6 separate regions of the Homo sapiens genome follow, and regions 2, 3, 4, 5 and 6 are each linked to region 1. Evidence: promoter capture Hi-C in 16 types of primary human blood cells and fetal thymus (Javierre and others, 2016). All regions are on one chromosome and are shown on one strand. The core of a region is centred on a gene start or on the middle of the fragment in contact, and the rest is flanking DNA. Distances in the headings are between cores, read along the strand shown.

What was found. Contacts are between HindIII fragments. The CHiCAGO score rates a contact against its expected background, and 5 or more counts as called.
Region 2: a contact is called between a fragment that was not itself captured here and the fragment with the promoter of BMP3 in region 1, in 1 of 17 cell types (total B cells). The highest score is 5.4, in total B cells.
Region 3: a fragment that was not itself captured here is called in contact with the fragment with the promoter of BMP3 in region 1 in 1 of 17 cell types (naive CD4 T cells); the score reaches 5.4 in naive CD4 T cells.
Region 4: a fragment that was not itself captured here is called in contact with the fragment with the promoter of BMP3 in region 1 in 3 of 17 cell types (naive B cells, naive CD8 T cells and erythroblasts); the score reaches 5.2 in naive B cells.
Region 5: a contact is called between a fragment that was not itself captured here and the fragment with the promoter of BMP3 in region 1, in 2 of 17 cell types (naive CD4 T cells and naive B cells). The highest score is 6.1, in naive CD4 T cells.
Region 6: a contact is called between a fragment that was not itself captured here and the fragment with the promoter of BMP3 in region 1, in 1 of 17 cell types (naive B cells). The highest score is 5.6, in naive B cells.

The regions. Positions count from the first base shown.
Region 1 is chr4:81,029,279-81,032,585 of GRCh38, forward strand. BMP3 (bone morphogenetic protein 3) reads left to right here and starts at 1,430. Exons shown (of 3, transcript NM_001201.5): 1 at 1,430-2,322. The coding sequence starts at 2,007. The HindIII fragment of the contact is 6,285 bases long and covers 1-3,214 here.
Region 2 is chr4:80,475,160-80,478,483 of GRCh38, forward strand. The region is part of intron 2 of CFAP299 (cilia and flagella associated protein 299); the gene reads left to right. Among named protein-coding and RNA genes, the nearest start is that of CFAP299, 140 kb to the left of the region's middle. The HindIII fragment of the contact is 962 bases long and covers 1,344-2,305 here.
Region 3 is chr4:80,431,001-80,434,134 of GRCh38, forward strand. All of the region lies in intron 2 of CFAP299 (cilia and flagella associated protein 299), which reads left to right. Among named protein-coding and RNA genes, the nearest start is that of CFAP299, 97 kb to the left of the region's middle. The HindIII fragment of the contact is 5,418 bases long and covers 1-3,134 here.
Region 4 is chr4:80,410,375-80,413,673 of GRCh38, forward strand. All of the region lies in intron 2 of CFAP299 (cilia and flagella associated protein 299), which reads left to right. Among named protein-coding and RNA genes, the nearest start is that of CFAP299, 76 kb to the left of the region's middle. The HindIII fragment of the contact is 260 bases long and covers 1,591-1,850 here.
Region 5 is chr4:80,456,015-80,459,513 of GRCh38, forward strand. All of the region lies in intron 2 of CFAP299 (cilia and flagella associated protein 299), which reads left to right. Among named protein-coding and RNA genes, the nearest start is that of CFAP299, 120 kb to the left of the region's middle. The HindIII fragment of the contact is 3,407 bases long and covers 88-3,494 here.
Region 6 is chr4:80,515,619-80,519,187 of GRCh38, forward strand. All of the region lies in intron 2 of CFAP299 (cilia and flagella associated protein 299), which reads left to right. Among named protein-coding and RNA genes, the nearest start is that of CFAP299, 180 kb to the left of the region's middle. The HindIII fragment of the contact is 1,689 bases long and covers 1,170-2,858 here.

The sequences.
Region 1 (3,307 bases), core at 180-2,679:
GCCCTACAGAGGGGAAGAGGGATAAATGCAATAGACATTGACTGAAGATTTTACTGCATATGGTCAAGAACTGCACTAAACATTTACATGGATTGCACACTGAAACTTCAGTTTAAATGCTAATTTCACTATTAATAGTGTGGTTATCTGGCCTGAGGCCAGAAATCAGACTCCCTGAATTTGGATCTCAGTTCTGTCACTTACTATGTATCCTTTTGCCTCAGTTTCCTCATCTGTAAAATGGGTTTTGCTGTGAAAATTATTTGGTAATATACTTGAAATATAAATAACAAGGCATGTCTAGAGCATAAGTGTGGAGAAAAATGTTAGCTCACAGTTGTTTTTTGTTTGTTTGTTTGTTTTTTGTTTTGAGACAAAGTTTGCTCTGTCACCCAGTCTGGAGTGCAGTGGCACAATCTCGGCTCACTGCAACCTCCATCTCCTGGATTCAAGCCATTCTCTTGCCGCAGCCTTCCCAGTAGCTGGGATTACATGTGCGCACCACCACGCCCAGCTAATTTTTGTATTTTTAGTAGAGATGAGGTTTCACCATGTTGGCAAGGCTGGTCTCGAACTCCTGACTTCGTGATCCACCCGCTTTGGCCTTCCAAAGTGCTGGGATTACAGGCCTGAGCCACTGCGCCAGGCTGCTCATAGTTTAATCTCCATTGTACAGCCATGACAAGAGAGAATTAGGAAGACAAAGCTAGCGACTCTTACATTCTGTTCCGGACTCCGGGATCTTCCACACACCCTTGTTTTTAGCCACCACTGCACCATCCTGCTGGGAAACCTTTTGGGGACCTGTAGGAAGGAAACCTTTGGGGGAAGCTGTAGGTGGGGTTGTGGTGTGTTTGCTTGTTTTCTTATTTGTTTTTAACATGATATTGACTCGCACATATTTCTCACCTCGAGAGAAGATGATGCGGGAGAGAGGGGCGTTATGATGGGTATGCTCTCAGAAAGACAGGAAGCTATGATGACGGGCTGCAGGTGCAGGGGCCCGCAGTGTCCGTCAGAAGAGGCTCGGGAAAGTAAGCGAGAATGGTGTTCACGTTGTGACTTTGTTTGGAATCATAAGACCGAAAAGCCAGGAAGAAGTTCTGTTTTCCTCTGCCCTCTTGCTAGCCACCACACAGCCACTGTTCTTGGAGAATTAAAAAAAAAAACAAACAAAAACAAAACAAAACAAAACAAAAAAACCGTCCCTCCTACCATTTCTTTAGTCCTGAATCTCCTTTTCCCTTCCTCTCCCCAGCCATCCCCACCCCTACTTCCTCTTCTCTCCCTCCCGCTGCCAGTTCTCTGGTTACTCCCCCCCTCCCTTGCTTCTATCCCAGCCTGGTGCAAGCTAAGAGGGCGAGGACGAGGGAGTGGGAGAGATTGGCTGAGGACTCTACAGATCAGCTAGAGAGCGAAAGAACTAAGTCTCTCTCTCTCATACACACACACACACGCACACACGCGCGCGCGCGCGCGCACACACACACACACGTACACTAAAAAACTCGGACCAGCCGCGCCGCAGCTGCTCCAATCCCTGGAAAAGGCAATCGAGCGCCCTCCGGACCGCTGCGCACAGCCCCGGCTCCGACCTGGCGCCCAAAACAGAGCTAGTCCTAGTCCCTCGCGCGGCCAGTTTGGCCGGGTGTTCCCAAAAATAAAGCGAGGAGGGAAGGTACAGACAGATCTTGAAAACACCCGGGCCACACACGCCGCGACCTACAGCTCTTTCTCAGCGTTGGAGTGGAGACGGCGCCCGCAGCGCCCTGCGCGGGTGAGGTCCGCGCAGCTGCTGGGGAAGAGCCCACCTGTCAGGCTGCGCTGGGTCAGCGCAGCAAGTGGGGCTGGCCGCTATCTCGCTGCACCCGGCCGCGTCCCGGGCTCCGTGCGCCCTCGCCCCAGCTGGTTTGGAGTTCAACCCTCGGCTCCGCCGCCGGCTCCTTGCGCCTTCGGAGTGTCCCGCAGCGACGCCGGGAGCCGACGCGCCGCGCGGGTACCTAGCCATGGCTGGGGCGAGCAGGCTGCTCTTTCTGTGGCTGGGCTGCTTCTGCGTGAGCCTGGCGCAGGGAGAGAGACCGAAGCCACCTTTCCCGGAGCTCCGCAAAGCTGTGCCAGGTGACCGCACGGCAGGTGGTGGCCCGGACTCCGAGCTGCAGCCGCAAGACAAGGTCTCTGAACACATGCTGCGGCTCTATGACAGGTACAGCACGGTCCAGGCGGCCCGGACACCGGGCTCCCTGGAGGGAGGCTCGCAGCCCTGGCGCCCTCGGCTCCTGCGCGAAGGCAACACGGTTCGCAGCTTTCGGGCGGCAGCAGCAGGTGAGTGCGCGAGGTGAGACTCCCTTCCCGCGGTCCCGCCCCAGCTTTCTCCCGGGACCCCCCACAGCTTCCTTGTCTGCCCCTTGCTTGGTGGCGCTGCCTAGGGACCTTTCTCCGCCCTCCTCAGCTGCCCTCTGGATTCCTCCGTCCAGTCACACCCCGCGTGTCGCCAGCTGCATCTCCTGTAAGCCCAGTTTTCAAATCCAAAGTGAGAGGGGGAAATAGAATGAAGGCGCGGAGCAGTGGAGGGGTAGGCTGGAGGAGCTTCGTGGAAAAAGGGAAGGGGCGACACCCCATGCCTGTGAGGCCTCCTGCCCTGAGTGACTGGAGCACCTCTAGGGTACCTTATTCTGTTGATTCCTAAATCGGCCAGCGGAAATTCCTTTGGACTGGGCTTTAGCCATGTTTACTAAGAGGCAGATGCCATTTTATGCCAATGCCAGGACCCGAGAGAAATCATACTTGAATAAGACGCCTTCCCCTCTCCTTTTCTCCTTCCCCAGTCGCTTCTCCAGATATTGCACCCGCTCCTAATTCGCGCCCTTTGTGTTACTGTACTATATTTGACACTTTACTTGATAGTTCCTTAGTGGCAAAAAAAAAAAAAAAAAAAAAAAAAACAGGTGCTTGGGTGTTTCGATTATTAAAACGCATCTGGGTAAACAGGGGTTGTACCATCCATCCTGGGAGGAGCTGGGAGACAAGGGGAGGGAGCAACCCTGGATGTAAACACCTCTTGGAATCTGCCCAAGAAAATCTGCTCATCCCATTTTTCAGCACAGATCACTTCGGACTGAAATTCATGGCTTAACAAGGTTTCTCCTAGCCCCTGTGGTGAAGGGAATAACTTATGCTAACAGCCTCCCTCCCTTGTGTTAACAGCTTGAGGGAAAGCTTCCTGGACACTAACTCTGTTTTTATGCTTTGAGGATTCACCAGGCTTTTTTGTTCACTACATTCATGATAAGGGGAAATGTAACTGCAA
Region 2 (3,324 bases), core at 575-3,074, 550 kb before region 1:
CAGGTGCCAGTGTGGTATGGAAGTTGAAGGCCATGTAAAGATTTAGCTTAGAATGTTTAAAACAGGGCAGTAGATATGAACACATTTGCATTTGAAAAGATCCCTCTGGTTGTAGTGCAATGTGCAGATTATGGGGAGAAATAGAAGCAGGCAGACCAGTTACCGGATACTGTAGTACCCAGGCAAGAAATGGTAGTGGCTTGGTCCAGGGAGGTGGTGGAGGAAGTGGTTTGTGACAGGATGAGGAATGATTTCTTTGGAAATAGAGTGGCAGGACATACTGATGGATTAGTTATGCAGAGTGAAAGAAAGAGAAGGATTAACTGAGACATCCAAGTTATTTTTGGCCTGAGCAACTGGGTAAATTGTAGTGTCATTAACTGACACTGGAAGATGAGGACAACTGAGAGAGGAATGGGCTCTTCTAGGGGCTTGGAAAGAAGGGAATAAGAATATCTTTTCGATATGTTAAAACCAAGGTAGCTTATGTCATCTAAGTGAAGATGGTAGTCCACTGTTGATATCTGAGTTTGAAACTCAATATAAAGTCAGGGTTAGAGTTGTACGTTCAGAAATAGATAAGTGTCGCAAACAAATATTTGGTGTTTAAAACTATGAAACTAATTAAGAACCCCTAAGGAGAGAGGCTGAATTAGAGAGTGAAGAACAGAGTCCTAGAATATTCCTAAATTTAGAGATCAGTTGAAGAGGATGATCTAGGAAAGGGACTGAGAAAAAGATTCAATGAGGCTGAGTGAAAGCCAGGAGAATGTGACGACCCAGACGCCAGTAAACAACAATGTTGCTCAACTCTTAGTAGTTTCCAGTGAGGCCAAGTAGTCTATCCTTTTAATAAGTTGTGTAAAACACGATTCACATGGTGCTGTAATAATGCTGTCTCTCCTGCAACTCTACAGCATCATTGGTAAGAGTGAAAAAGGAGTTCTTGAATTCTCCAAACTCAAGGAAAGATCTCCCTCACCCCTTACTCTATTCTCTTTACCCTCCTTAGCACTCACAGCTTCACCATCACTCCCTGCCTTGACAGTGTTGGGAGGGAAACTTGTTCTCTTCTAACTTGGGTCCAGTATTTGGGGCCTACAAATTAACTGACTCTAGACAGATTAATAGGAGAAAAGACAAGGTTAATTTGTGTGTGCACAGGGTACACACGGGAATACTTAGTGATGAGTAACTCACTGGATGGCTAGAGATTATATGCCAAATTCAGTAGTGGCTGCAGTGGGGAGAGGCTTCAGTGGGAAGGTATGGAAGGTTCATTTGGACTTTTTGATACTAATAGAAATAGGCAGTCCATCTCCATGGCAGCAGAATTCCCAGGAAGCTTCCTGGGAGGAGTTAATGGCACTGCATTTTCTGGAGGGCTATTTTGGGAAGGTTCAGATAAGATTTCTTTCTGCATCTTCTTTGGCTCAGATGTTTACACTTTATAATTTTTATACCAACTCTGGGGGTCTAAATGGGTCCCCATGATTAATCTCATTGTGTTCTTCATCATTATTTGTGTCAGTTATACAGAAACTCAGCATTTCCAGCGTTTTTTATCCCCTGGAATTTCATTCCATTTGTGCATCTCCTTTTCTGACTGGATCTCCAATCCAATTTCTGGATCCCCTCCACTGTGCTCTCTGGAGCTCTTTTCTGGTCACCCCTTCACTGTCAGATGGCTCTTCCTTAAGGATACTGTCTCCCCAGTATGATGGTGGATTTTACACTTTCATATCCCTGGAGCCTGCTTTTCTCAGGCATTTTGTGTGTGTGTGCGTGTGTGTGCGCATGCGTGTGTGTGTGTGTGTGTGTGTGTCTTCCCCAACTTTCCTCCCAGCTTTGAAAATCATGTCTTTAGACTGTATCTTCTATGTCTTCTACCATCTCTGCTTCTTTTTTTTGAGACAGGGTCTCATTCTGTTGCCTAGCAAGTTAGAGTGTGGAGGTGCAATCATAGCTCACTGCAGCCTTGCAGCCTCAACCTCCCAAGCTCAAGCGATTCTCCCACCTCAGTCCCCAAGTAGTTGGGACTACAGGCACATGCCACTGTGCCCAGCTAATTTTTGTATTTTTTGTAGAGACAGGGTTTCTGTATGTTGCCTACACTGGTCTTGAACTCCTGAGCTCAAGCAATTTGCCTACCTCAGCCTCCCTAGTGTTGGGATTACAGGCATGAGCCACCACATCCAACCCCACCTCTGCTTCTTGATGTTATCTGTAGGCTTCTTTGCTTTCTGTCACTCTCTTTATCCCTATGCCTGTCGCAACTCTTGGTCATTCAGTATTCATGGAGATAAGCTTTCCATTTTGGCCACTCAGGCTTTGGCCCTCCTTTCCTTCATTGAGCTTGTTCACCGCCATGCACATCCATCTTATCCCACGATCACACCTTAGATCTTGATTTACTAATATCTGTAATCCTTCCACAATCTCAACTTCAAGCATTCTACTTTGTCACCACTAATACTAAACTTTCCATAATTCTCCCCTTAGTTCTCTAGATTTATTTGTTGACTCCACGACACCTAGCACCTACTGTTCCTACCACCTTTTAAAACTCTCTCATAGTCTCTATTCTCCCATTTGTCTCCCCTACTTAGTTTAGATTCTATGGTCCATCATTATAATTGTTCCCTGGCAGACATTATCAACTTACTTGCTCCTACATTTTGCTTTATTATTGTTGCCTGGAAAACCCCAGCTCTTTTCTCCCTCCACACCTGTGCTTACAGAGCTGCAAATGGCTAGAGAAAAACCTGCAAATGGAACTGGTCTCACTTTGACTTCATGATCACTAACCAGTATGGACCTTAGTGATTCTGCAATCCTATTTCATTTCCCTGGAGCAGTTATTTACTCTCCCGCTGTCCTAAACTCAAACATTATTGCTCATTTACTCCCCCAGAAAATTTTCAAAAACTATCTCCTTCCTCATATATTATTTAAGTTTACATATAATATTTTTGCCATAACTTAAATTGTGATAAAGGATGTCGTACCTGGTGTATTGTATGCCAACTTTTAAAACGTATCCAGTGGAGGCTAAAATACCACAGATGATGTCCACTATTTTCCATTTAGAAACACAGAAAAGCTCCTCTGTAATTGCTGAAGCTGTTCATCATGCATGTTTCTTCTTGACTCTATTTCCATTCCACTTACCCCACAGACTTTTATTTTATAATTTTTTTGTTTGATAGCCTTTTATCATACTTATATATAACAAAAGGCATATAAATTGAAATTTAAAAATTCTTTTTTGTTTTGTGAGCACAGGCCTCTAGCAGTTAAAGCAGTTAATGAATTATCATTATA
Region 3 (3,134 bases), core at 480-2,979, 600 kb before region 1:
CTTCGTGAGACCTCCTCTGACCAATCCATTTAAAAATTACTGCCCTCTTCCTTCACAGCAGCTGTCTCTTCCTTATCTATATTCCCTGTTAAGGTTTTCTTGGTTGCATTTACCCTGTCTAACATAGTACATATTGTACTTACTTTGTGGTTATTGCTACCTCCTTCCTCTACTAGAATGTGAGCTCCTTGGGCAGGATGTTTTATCTGTTTTGTTCAGTAACTGGAATGGTATCTGGCATTCCGGACTCAATGCAATGTGGGCCTCTAGTAGAAGAGGAACCAAATATTTGCAAGGCTTTTCTTCCTCATTCCCTCTCTCTGTTCTTTTCCTTCCTTCTTTCCTTCCTTTTTTCCCTCCATCTCTCCCCCCTTCCTTCCCTTCTTCCTCCCTCTCTTCCTTTCTTCCTTCCTCCCTCCTTTTTTCCCTTCCTCCCTTCCTTTCTTTGCCTCCCTTTTTGCCTCCCTCACTCCTTCCCTTCTTTCCGTTTCCTCCTCCTCCTCCTCCTGTTTCTTCTCTTCTCCCTCGTCCTTCTCTTCTTTCCCTTCCCCTTCTCCTTCTTCTCCTTTTATTTTTCTTAAGAAACTTGGAGAAGCCACTGAGTTAAGGCCAATTTTCTATATCTAGCCCTCTGTTTGGATTGGCAGCCGCTTGGTTATAGGGAAAAGCTGTGTCTAGTCTTCCTGAGGCATTGTCAAACTAGGACATCACAGAGAAGCCTCTTCACCTTCGGGGTCACTGCTCATTAACCCTATTGTTCAAACTCTGCAGCTGGCAGCTCAGTAGCCATTGAATGCCATTGATATGTGGCTATAAAAATTATTCTGTTTTGGGAGTGGCTTGTTCTAATAGTGAGTGTTGGGGCTGCAGCATGCCAACATGGTCCTGGATGGCTTTCCTCTACTTCCTGTGATACTGTGCTACTTTCACAGAAGAGTTTGTTGTTCTCTATGCCAATTCATTGTCAGCTCTATAAGGATAGGGACATTTTCTGAATAACAAGGCCCACTTGGTTCACAAAAATAACACAGTAAGTATTTTTTGAATAAGTTAATGTAATAATCTCACTTATAGATAGGAAAATCTAAAAGAAAATCAAAATGGAAACTATTTTATGATTGCAAAATATTAGGAGTCAACACTTAGTTATTTCATTTTTTGTTTTTTTTGAAATGGAGTCTTGCTGTGTCGCCCAGGCTGGAGTGCAATGGTGCCATCTCAGCTCACTGCAACCTCCCCCTCCAGGGTTCAAGTGATTCTCCTGCCTCAGCCTCCTGAGTAGCTGGGATTACAGGCACGCGCCACCATGGCTGGCTAATTTTTGTATTTTTTAGTAGAGACGGGGTTTCACCATGTTGATCAGGCTGGTCTCGAACTCCTGATCTTGTGATCCACCTGTCTTGGCCTCCCAAAGTGCTAGGATTACAGGCGTGAGCAACCATGCCCGGCCCTTTCATTTGTTTTATTTATGCTATTTCTAAAAGACAGTCTTTTTAGCACAAGTTTTTCAGTTCACATGCAATTTACACTCTATTTTTTTTTTTTTTTTTGAGACGGAGTCTCACTCTGTCGCCCAGGCTGGAGTGCAGTGACTCAACCTCAGCTCACTGCAAGCTCCGCCTCCCAGGTTAACACCATTCCCCTGCCTCAGCCTCCAGAGTAGCTGGGACTACAGGCGCCCACCACCACGCCTGGCTAATTTTTTGTATTTTTAGTAGAGATGGGGTTTCTGTGTTAGCCAGGATGGTCTCGATCTTCTAATCCACCCACCTCGGCCTCCCAAAGTGCTGGGATTACAGGTGTGAGCCACCGTGCCCGGCCTACACTCTATTTTTTATATACTTTCTGTGCAAGGTAATAAAAATCTAGAGTTGGAGGGAGGGGAATAAGTATTCTTAGCTTCCCATCTTTCCCAGAATATTTTCATCAATGTTTATTTTTAATTAAAAATACCTCTCACCTTCTTTACTCATCTTATATTCCTGATAGAGCACTGATTGACTTTGTTCATTCTCAGAGAACAAAGATTTACTCTCATCAAGAAGACTTTAAAAGATACCTGTTCTTGATGTGGCATGGCAGATATTGAAAAGTTATTTTTCTGAACTCATTGTCCTTAATTTATCCTGTTCATCTGTTAGTTCCTACCTATGAAAAACCACAGAGGAAAAAAAAAGATTCATAAAAGGCTGAAGTTACATTATTTATCCCAAGGTGTTATATTCTGGAAACCATGGAGGTACCCTGTACTTGAGTAATTAAAACAAGCATTTTATGTGTATAGATGATACATTTCTCTTAATTCATAAACCACCTTCTAAATATCTCAATATGTACAGCTGTGTATTCCTGAACATGATCTGTGGTGATAGCTTAATTCTGCTCCTAAGAATGAAAAAATAAGAAAGAGAAACATTTGTGGGAAAATAGAAAGAATACTTTACCTTAAAAAAACGAACACTTCGAGTTCTGCTTTTCTCAGTTTCTCAAAACTATAATTGAATATTTTATTCTTCAAATAAAAGCACAGATGGCTTTAATGATTGTAAATAAATAGTTCACTTGGTTGTCACTGATTTAAATTACTTAAAAAATCAAATTTTAAGCAAATAATTATAGGTCACATGTAATTTTTTTTGCTAAAATCTTAAGTATGGAGTATTTGGCTACCAACTTTGTACAATGTAACATTTTATAAATAAGTAGTAATTAATTTATTTGCTCTCAGAGTAACTTTTTCTTTCAAGCACGTTAAAAAGAGGATACCCAATTAAAAATTATTTGAAGTTATAATATTACATTAAGACAACAGTTTAATTTGGAAAAGTTTATTTTCTCTACACTCACTGGGAATTTTGTAACCAGTATCATCAGGTAAAAATGCTGTCAACCTCTTCTGTTTGAGATCATGTGTCATACTTAAAAAGTCTCTTCAATGTGTAACACATTTATAGTGTCATAGCAAGTGCTCAATACAACTTTTTAATTGGTCAGTTCATTCTTTATTTCATTCAACAACTATTTACCAAATGCCTGTTATGTATCAGGCATTAATACAAAAGATAAGCTGTAAATTTACATTTATTTATATTAAAATTTGTATTTTAGATGTTAAAAATATTCTATAAACATCA
Region 4 (3,299 bases), core at 471-2,970, 620 kb before region 1:
TCTCCTTCTGAAACTCTTCCAACTCTGAGATTCTATGCATGTGTTTTTCACCCTGGTGGGAGTTGCCTAGAAGATAGTCAATTGGGACCATGTATCCAAGGATAGAAGCTAGAATTCAGCAGAAGCAGAGATCAAAGGGTATTTCCATGGGTATCTCTGATCTCCTCCTAACTAAACAGGTATTGGTGACTAGATCCGGGAAGAGAAAATGTTTCTTACCCGTCCATGTATAGAACTGTATTGCATGTGGCCTTTTTCTCTAAACTTTCTGAATCAGCAATGATCATTCAAGAAATTATAACAGCTAATGTTATATTGAAGATGAAGCATTGCATTAATTATCTCACTTATCACTGGGTGGTGGTGTGTTTCTCCTTTCACAGATAACGAAATAGACTAAGAGAAATTTAATCATTAGCTTAAGGTCTTTCAACAGGTGAGTGCAGAATTCAAACCTTGGCCTGCTTGTCTGTTTTTTTTTCTATTCTAGGAAGAAGTTGTACATATTTAGAAACATCCTTCCTTAATACTGGCAGCTTTTGTTAATAAGAATTAGGTTGGCTCCAAAAAGTAATCATCTGCATTAGGAGAACATAAAGAAATGTGTGTTAAATGAATGAGGACCAAGACTTAGGTTTTGGGTAAAATTCGGTAATGTATTATACGTGTCATAATTAAGTTGCTCTTCTCCACTAAAGCAGCATTGTATGTAACCAGAGATATTTATTTCCTTTGGCTATTTGACCCATTATTGGGATAATTGAATGCTGGCCTCTTGAATAATAAAAGGTTTACATTTCAAATAAGCCATGGAGTTTGAGCATCTAGATTTTCAAAAGCCATGAGTGACATAGGATATTGAAAACTTCCACAGTGAACTTAAATTTTAGAGGAAATTTGAAGAAACAGCAATCCATATGTATAAACTGGCACTTAATTCATTAATTCTTAGTTGTCCTCAATCATCCTCAATCATTACTTCATTTAGTTTTATCACTGCCTAAGGTTTGCTTAGAGTTAACTTATTCTGAGTCTTTGTATTTCAAGTAAAATATATAGTACTGGGAAAAATCTAGAAGGATGAAAGGAATGTAAACAATCTAATTTTTTTATCAAAAGATTAGACATTTACATGCTATAGTATTTATTGTCTTTAGAAAAATTGTACCTTATTTATTTATTTAATAAACAACCTTTGCTATATATTACAATATAATATATAGCAACCCGAAGCTATATATTATGCACTATTGATTTGTTAGTAAAAATGTGAATTCTTTCACCATTTTTTTGTTATTGTTTTGTTGTTATGATATTTTCTGATCCTTGGAAGTTTATGAGACAAATAGGTGTCAAGAGCCCTTGAATGTTATTTTCTAGGATAAGATTTCTCTTTGCCATATTCTCTTTTGCATTCAATAATTTAGACTTATTTTACTTCATAATAAAGAGGATGAGAGAACAGATATGTATTAATATAACAGTAATAATAAATAGCATTTATTGAACATTCACTCTCAGTGCCCACAGAGAGCATCATCTACGGTGTATTCTGTGCAGTGGCTTGCCTTCTCTAAGTACTACTCTGAAAGCTTTGCATGTGTTGTTTCTTCAAATCCTCAAGTCATCCAATGAACTAGGGGCTTGCATTAGGTCCCTTTTATGGAATAAGAAAGTGACTCACAGAGAGGTTAAGTACCTTACATAGGTCCCTCAGCTAGTAAATAGAGGAGTTAGGATTCATAACCAAGCAATCTAGTGACCATGCTTTTAGTCCTGTACTGTGCTTCCCTTCTGTTGGAGACCACTTGCCTATCCAAACTTTCACGGTCATCATTTTAACTATCCCAAGCTTCTGCACTTCATTTCTGATCAATAGTCTGAATCCACATATAGTCCTTTTTTTTTTTTGCTTATTAAACACTAAACATAAAAGCATTATAATTCAAATATACATGTGCATATTATAAGCTACTCCTAAATGAATGTGTTTTCATGACACGTTCTGGGATAAAAAGATAAGCAAGAAAAAGCCCCTTTAATTAAGAAGCTTATAGTTCAGAGAGGAATAACGCATGAACTCAACTAAATATATTGCTCAAAGTGGAATGTGCAGACATAACATATTCCAGTAGCACAGAGGAGCAAGTGATTCATTCTTATTTGGTGAGTATGGTGCTGTGGACCTTGCCTCAGAGAGAGAAAGCTGAAGGATTTGTATTAAGTAAGATAACTGGGAGACATGGGCATAGACAATGTGTAGTATAGAAAATGAGGACATTTTTCCAGCATCTTTGCTCACTGAGGATGCTGAAGAAATGCAGCAACATGTAGATATGTGTCTCAATTATTGTTGGATTGTTAATATCAAGAAATGATGCCTTGACACACACACACATACCTATTCATTCATCTGTCTATTCATTTTTTCACCAAATCCCTGGTTAAAGTAATCTCAGTTCATAGGGATGGCAATTATCTTCCTTAATGGGTATGCATCCTTCAGCCTCAAGAAGATTTAGAATGTAGTATAAAAGTGTTTAAGACTCAGAATTTTAGCATTGATATTTGTGTGTTATGGAAGACTCTGCTCAGGTTTAGAATTTATTATATATGCATAAAATAAGTAACAGATTTCAGTCTTTTTGAATGGTAGCCTCATAACATTAAGTTAAAATGTACGATTGAGAAATTGTTCTCAACTTGTGTGAGAAGAGAGTGGACCTTGTTTGTATCCCAAAGCCACCTGTGCGATAACATGAAAAGTATGGGTGAAAGCTTAACTGGAGTGGGTTTAACAGAGAATGGAAAGAGTGAAATTGCACAGCAAGTACAGATCAAAGTGTAGAGCCAGACGTTGCTGTCATTCCTTGAGCATTGACTATGGTGCTGGCTGTGGCTTTGAAGCCTTACCCTTAGGTGATTGTGAAAGCAGCAGGCATCCCAGAGAGGGATAAGAGTGAGAGAAGATAACAAGACTGTATGTGAGCTCACCTGTGACACCTTTCAGGGTGGGACCCAGGAGCTGGAGATGTTTATAGCTAGGTAGACAGAAACTAACACCTGCAAATTTAGCTTATTACCTTTAATGAAGCCCTATTGGTACCTACAGACTTTTGAGCTTAGACTTACTCTACTTGAGTAAAAACAAAAAGGAAAGAAAATCTGGGACAGTGAAGGGAACAAGAAACTGGAGGAACTATAGAGAGTGGATGTATTAGCAATTCCAGATGGAATAAACAGAAATTCACTTTTCGTCTGTGTCTCACGAGGCACAAGAGTCCAAGACCTCAAAGTCG
Region 5 (3,499 bases), core at 541-3,040, 570 kb before region 1:
GGAGATAAGGTGATGCTAGGGTGGGGTTGTAGTTTTAAAGAGGATGATCAAGAAAGGCCTTATTTAGAAGATGACATTTGAGCAAAAAGCTTAATGAACTAAGGTAGCAAGCCATGAGATAGTTAGGAAAAGCCAAACCCCATGCTTGGACACAGCAAGGAGGTGAGTGTGGCTGGAGTGGGATGATTTAAAGAAAATGAGGCCAGAGAAATAAAGGGAGTGGAGCAGCTTCATGGCAAGACATAATGTACCTTTCACTTTTGAGATATGAAGACATTAGAGGGCTTTGCTCAGAGGAGTGTCCAGATATCTGATATAAAGGGATCTCCCTCTGGCTATAATAAGAATAGTTTGTAGTGAGAACAAGAAGGCAAGCAGGGAGAGCAGCGAGAGGCTTTGTAATAAGCCAAGCAAGGGGAAGTTCTGCTTGGACTAGGATGATAACAGTGGTGGAAGTGCTGAGGGATGTCTGGGTTCTGGGTATATTTTGAAGATAGAACAGGAAGAATTTTCTGATGGTTTGAATATGAGATATGAGGAAGAAGATGACTCAAGGATGACTTTGGTTTTACCTGAGTACATAGAGAATGAAATAGACCATAAGAGAAGGATACATGGAGGATTGGAATCTGGAGTTTGTATTTTAGATGTAGCAAGTTTGAGATACCATGAAGAAATCCAAGTAAAGATGTAGAGGGCAGTTGGATAACCATGTTGGAGTTCAGTGGAGAGGTCTGGGTTGGAGACATTAATCTGTGACTCATGCATGTAATCATGTAAATGAATAAAATAGAAAAGAGTTCCAAGGAATGAGTCCTGCAACACTCCAATGCATAGAAGTTTGACAGATGAGGAAGAGCTAACTGGCAGAGCTAGAGATGGTTTAGCCAGGAAGACAAAGGCTACGGTGTTGTGGATACCAACAGAGGAAAGTATTTTGAGGAAGAGGAGATCAGTCATTCCAAATGCTTTTTTTTTTTTTTAACGCAGATGTTTTTGTCTGCAAATAGGTAGTGGTAATATTTATATTATTAAAGAGACCATGAGAACATGTAAAAATGGAAGACTTTTACAGCACAAGTAGTTTGCATTATGCCAAAATGTAGCCACTTCAAATACAACTTTGAAGTAGGGTATAAATAAACTATTCCATTAACCACTAAATTGAAGGACAAGAATTACAACAATTGATGATCCGCAGGCAGCGTTTTCCACAACAAAAAAATCATATGGGAAGTTGAATAAGTATCTTTGTTATTAGCCTACGTCCTAATAACATCAACTTGAAATTATTATTGAGCCATGTTGGAAAGTTATTTTTGGTAATTTCCTTAAGTGGGGAAGAGAGTCAAATAGGTTATCATGTTATGTTATGGAGGGTGAGGCCATGTGCCACAGATTCTGTGCTTTGGATGTGTCACAGGAGCAGCCCTCAGCTTCCATGGCCCATGTGAATGGAGGCAAGAAATGCCATTCATCTGTGACTTTTAGAAGACACCGGAACAAATTTATGTGTAAAAGATCTATTTGATACTTTCATCTCTCTCATTCTTCCCATTGATTCCTAATCTATTGCTATAAAATCCAAGGTTGGTAGTCAGAGTTTCTCTCCTGAGCCAACACTATTTTGCCTGTTTCTTCTTGACCTTGGAGCATTTTAAGATGTTTTTCGGGACTTCTATAACCACATGCTACTGTAGCATTCATTTTTCATGGGATGCTCCATGCAGTTCGTTTGCTGTAACTGAAACTAGCTGTCCCCCAACCCCCTCTGCCAAGGATATAATTTTTCTAGGAGCCATCTACAATAGAGACTACTTATTTATCCATGTTTTGCCGGGCTTGTAGCTCACTGTTGATTTTCTGAAACGTTACTTCTGCATTTTCCAGTAAAAATCTGCCTTCTACTTTGAGACTTAACTCCCGACGTCCATTTCTATCCTGTGGCATATTAATCCATCTCTTGTTTTTGTCAAGAACTTTGGCACCTGGATCTTAGTTTTACTTGTCACTCTCAGTGCTGTCATCCTTCACCATTTTTTTGATTCTCACAGCTCTGAATGCTCAGTTTTTAGCCCGTTTATACTCCAGAAAAAAAAGAAAGAGAGACTCAGGGAAAAATGGAAAAACAATAGCTCTTCATGGAAAGGAAAAGGATCAATAACAAATGGGCGCCCCCAAAATTCAAGAGTCACATGAATATACATTTAAAACAAATAATTCAAACTAATTTTTACAAATGTTTCTTTTTCTTCCTGAGTTAAAGGAGTTATATCTTGAAGAATCTAGTTCCGTGTCTGGGAATGGAACCCAGGCTGCGGCGCATGCCAAATGCCAGCTACTGGACTACAGGCTGGAGTGCCTTTTTGCAAATCCCACAGGGGATCCAAGGCAGGCAATATGAGTGTACAAAGGTTTTTAACTTTTAAAAAAATCTTATTTCTGAAAAAATCTTTTTTCTGCCTTTTTAAAAAAATCTCACCAAGGGAGCTTCTAAGGCTGTATTCTTTGTGTATTTTTTATATTTATAAGATGGTTGTTTAAGACAAGAGCTCTCTAAAACATTTTCTTTTAAATATAGCCAATTTATTTATTTTATTAGTGATTCAAGCCAAATAAGACTTCTGCATGGAAAGTCCCAAAAGTAACTTTCCAGGTTTAGAATACTATGGATGTGACATTTTAAAAATGGGCACAGAAGATGCAGCCTTCCCCTCCAGGATCTCCCCAAAAATTCAATCCCAGAAATAGGCTAAAATAGCAAGGTTTCGAATGCCCCAGACCATTAAGGATGCAGTTTGTTTGTTCAGGGTCTTCAGTATCCCAATAACAGATCTGTTCATCTATGGCACTGAGTAGGCCCTCCTGGGATTGAACTTTCCCAGGACTAAAACCAGGCAGCAAGCCTGGTTGAGACAATTAAAGCTCTTTGCGGATGGGACTTCTTTTTTTTTAATTTTTAATTTTTTAATGAATATCTTTTAGAGAAAGGGTCTTGCTCTATCATTCCGGCTGGAGTGCAGTGGTGCACTCACAGCTCACTGCAACCTCAAACTCTTGGGCTTAATAGATCCTCCCACCTCAGCCTCCCTAACAGTTAGGACTACAGGTGCATTATCACCGTGCCCTGGCTAATTAAAACAATTTTAGTTTTTTGTAGAGATAGGGTCTCCCTATGTTGCCCAGGCTGATCTTGAACTCCTGGCCTCTAGCAGTCCTCCCACTTAGGCCTCCCAAAGTGCTAGAATTACAGGCATGAGTCACTGCATCCAGCCAGGCTTCTTATGAAGACAAACTCTCCCAAGTGCTAGCAGGCCTCTGCACATGCAGACAGCCCACCCCAAGGGAAGAATCAGGGGAGAAGGGATGCAAGATGCCGGAAGTATGCCAACATGTAAAACCTCACATCAAAGGTCAAACAGTGCACTTGATGTCTCAAGTCACCCACTTGTTCTCTTCCAAGTGTACTTTACTTCCTTTCATTCCTTCTCTAAAGCTT
Region 6 (3,569 bases), core at 764-3,263, 510 kb before region 1:
AAAATATGATGTCCCAGGGAGTTAGGATAACAAGCTGTGATAACAATTAATAGTTGATTCCAATGCATCATGGAATTATAGAACCCAATAAAACTGCCTTTGTTTTTTGGAGGGTAGCCATAGACTTAATGTAAACCACTTATTTCACATGCATTTATTTATCTGTTCATTTAACAATATTTTAGAAATCTCTTATATGTAAGGCTCTGGGATATAGCTGGACGACAAATGGAGAATTTCATACAAAGCCTTTGCTGAAGGAGCTGATGGTTGTGTAAATAACAATAATTTACATGTTAATAATACAAGAAAGAAGATAGAAAGTACATTGCATATGCATTAATTTAGCGGACCAAAATACAATATCTAGTGGGATGTGTTAGTCTGTTTCTGCATTTCTTTTTTTTTTTTTTTTTTTTGAGACGGAGTCTTACTCTTGTCGCCCAGGATGGAGTGCAGTGGCGTGATCTTGGCTCACTGCAACCTCTGCCTCCCAGGTTCAAGGGATTCTCTTGCCTCAGCCTCCCAAGTAGCTGGGATTACAGGTGCCTGCTATCATGCCTGGCTAATGTTTGTATTTTTAGTAGAGACAGGTTTTCACTGTGTTGGTCAGGTTGGTCTCGAACTCCTGACCTCAGGTAATCCTCCCACCTCAACCTCCAAAAGTGCTGAGATTACAGGTGTGAGCCACTGTGCCTGGCCCTGTTTTTGCATTTCTATAAAGGAATACCTTAGGCTAGGTAATTTATAAAGAAAATATGTTTAATTTGCTTATGGTTCTGTGGGCTATACAAGGATGGCTCAAGCATCTGCTTCTGGTGACAGCCTCAGGAAGTTTACAATCATGATGGAAGGTGAAGGGATGGCAGGTGATGTCACATGATGAGAGAGGGAGTAAGAGGGAAATTGGGGAGGTTTCAGACTCTTTCAAACAACATATCTCAGGTGGACTAACTGAATGAGAACTCACTTATCACCAAGAAGATGGTGCTAAACCATTCATGAGGAATCTGACCCCATGATCCAATCACCTTCCACCAGGCCCCACTTGCAGCATTAGGGATCACATTTCAACATGAGATTTGGAGAGGAAAAACATCCAAACCATGTCATAGGGAGATAGGAAATTTCGTTATATCTGACCCTCAAGAAAGTAGTTGCCATCTTAAAGCTTGTGAGGAGCCCTGGCTGCAAGATTTAAAGGCCAATTGGGAATGAAGTATAATTATTTCCTTAAGTGTAGGCTACTTATTTAAGAAGCACACCTCTCAGTGCATACTCAGCTTATTATCACTGTAACCCTTTAGAAATCATATCCCCTAGGGCAGCGATCTTTTTATTTTTTATTCACAGCTCTATCTTCAGTGCCTAGTTCAGGGCTTTGGTATAATAAACGCTTAGTAAATATGTATTGAATGAATGAGTGGATTAAGCTAAGGACAGATGAGCTTCCATTGGATTTAGCAGCAAGAAGTTCATTAATGACCTTGGTGGGATCTCATTTTTCAGTGAAATGTCTAGTTTCACAGTTTGTTGAGGAGTAAATAGGAGATGTCTAAATATAAGCCAATGTTCAGCAGCACTTTCTAAATTGTGGGGTAGGAAGGAAAGAAATAGGAAATTGTTTAGAATGAATGGACACTGGTTTGAGTAAGAATTTCTGTTGTTTTAGATCAGAAAGAACTGAGCATGTTGAAATGCTGGTCAGAAGCCTCCTAAAGAAAGAAATAGAGGTAGGTCCATGAGAAGTTCATAAGTATATTCCAAACCATGGGAAGAGAAATTACCCTTACCTGGGACACTAAACCCTTTCCTGTTGTAACTGGAGAGAAGACTGAAGGCATGCAGGTAGATGCAGCTAAGTTTGTAGATCAAGCTGTGGAAAACTGAGGGAATTCTATTGGCTTAATTTTTGTTGTGTAATGTTAAGGTTATTGTTTTATCTTGAGAAACGATGTAGCCAGAGATTTGAGATAATTATACACATTTTGAAGTGGCTGCTGTGAGGAATGGAAAGAGATTTCACTAGTGGGACCTAGAAGTATTCCTAGACAGCCATGAGTGAGCTGGTGATGTTGCAAGCCACAGATCTATAGTTAGGCACTGATACACACTACTTATTTCTCTACCAAGGTTCAGTGGCCAAGGTATAGAAGGCAAGCATTCAGTTTAAATCAGTGAGGGTGTAGGAGAGAGACAAGAGAGTTGAGGACATGGTGAGACAGTGATTGATGAACTGCACTATGAATACAAAAGGACATAAAGTGGAGACACAGGTAGGCTCTTTGATAGGAAGAAAGTAGAAGCATTAAGAAACTGGGTGCCTTGCTGAGATCTAAGAATAGATCTAAAATCTGAGTGATAAAGCCAGAATAATGGGAAGCTGTGTTTCTTTGAGTTTAAGAGTTTTAGAGTGGACCAGTTTTAGGTGATGACAAGGTTGGGGGTATGGACATGTGAGTTGGTTGGTAAAGAGGAGTAGAGAAGTAAGGTTCACTGAGGATGAGAAGGCAGAGATTAATCTGAGAGATTAAGATTATTCATATGGACTTTGAAGACATACAAGATAATATTAGCAATTGGTGTACAGGAAATGATGCTGAGAGCAAAAGCCTTCAATTAATGTGGTGAAATGATCAAGAGACTCGTAGATAAACAACAAAGAGGGATAGAGTGGATAGCCAGAGCACTACATAAGCCATTAAAGATCAAGGGTTCCCAAATAATTCTATAGGCAAAAAGATCTGGGGGCATCATTAAGGATTTAGGACAATAACAGTCACTTGTCCTGACTCTAACATAAACAGAATATGAGAAAGTGAGTGGATTACACTTGCGAGTTCCGTACAGGAGAACCAAGCTTGAATTAGGGCAAGAACATAAAGAAAATATACAGTAAAGGTGCTCAGAATGCAGGTCAGATTACTTTTCATGAAAAATGGATTTTTTTTTTAGCACATCGTTTTAAGAGGGCAGAAAGCTCTAAAATGCTTGAGATGCAAGGAATTACAGAAGAGTATGGAAATACATATTTAAGGGAGAAAAAATGACTGAACAAGCTTCTATGTTGGGTGGTGAGCAGGGAAAGATAACAGGATCATGTCATGTGCTGGCTTTGCTTGGCCATCAGGTATCCCTGCCTGGCGAATGGGAGTATGGGGCCCTCAAGTTGCTTAGAATTAGCAATTATGGCTTGCCTGGGTTGGCATTTGAGCTAGCACTTGAAGAAGTAAGTAGAACTTTGCTTAGAGAGGACATATGGGTGGGTATAACAGGCAGAAGGAAGTACAAACACTGAAGACATACAAATACAAAAGTACTGGCAAGTGAAGTGAATGCTGGAAAGTTAAGTGTGAATAGAGCAACAAGATATGTGGGCTGGAGTACTAGATCATAAGGCTTGACTGTAGAAGAGTCAAAAATTTCATTAACATTGGTGATTAAATAATAATTAATTTTTTCTGCTTCATCTTTGCAATTCTACCTCTACTGCCTAGCATAGTTACTAGTACATAGAAAGCACTCTGTTAATATGTGTTTGTGTGTGTACTCTGTTAATATGTGTGTGT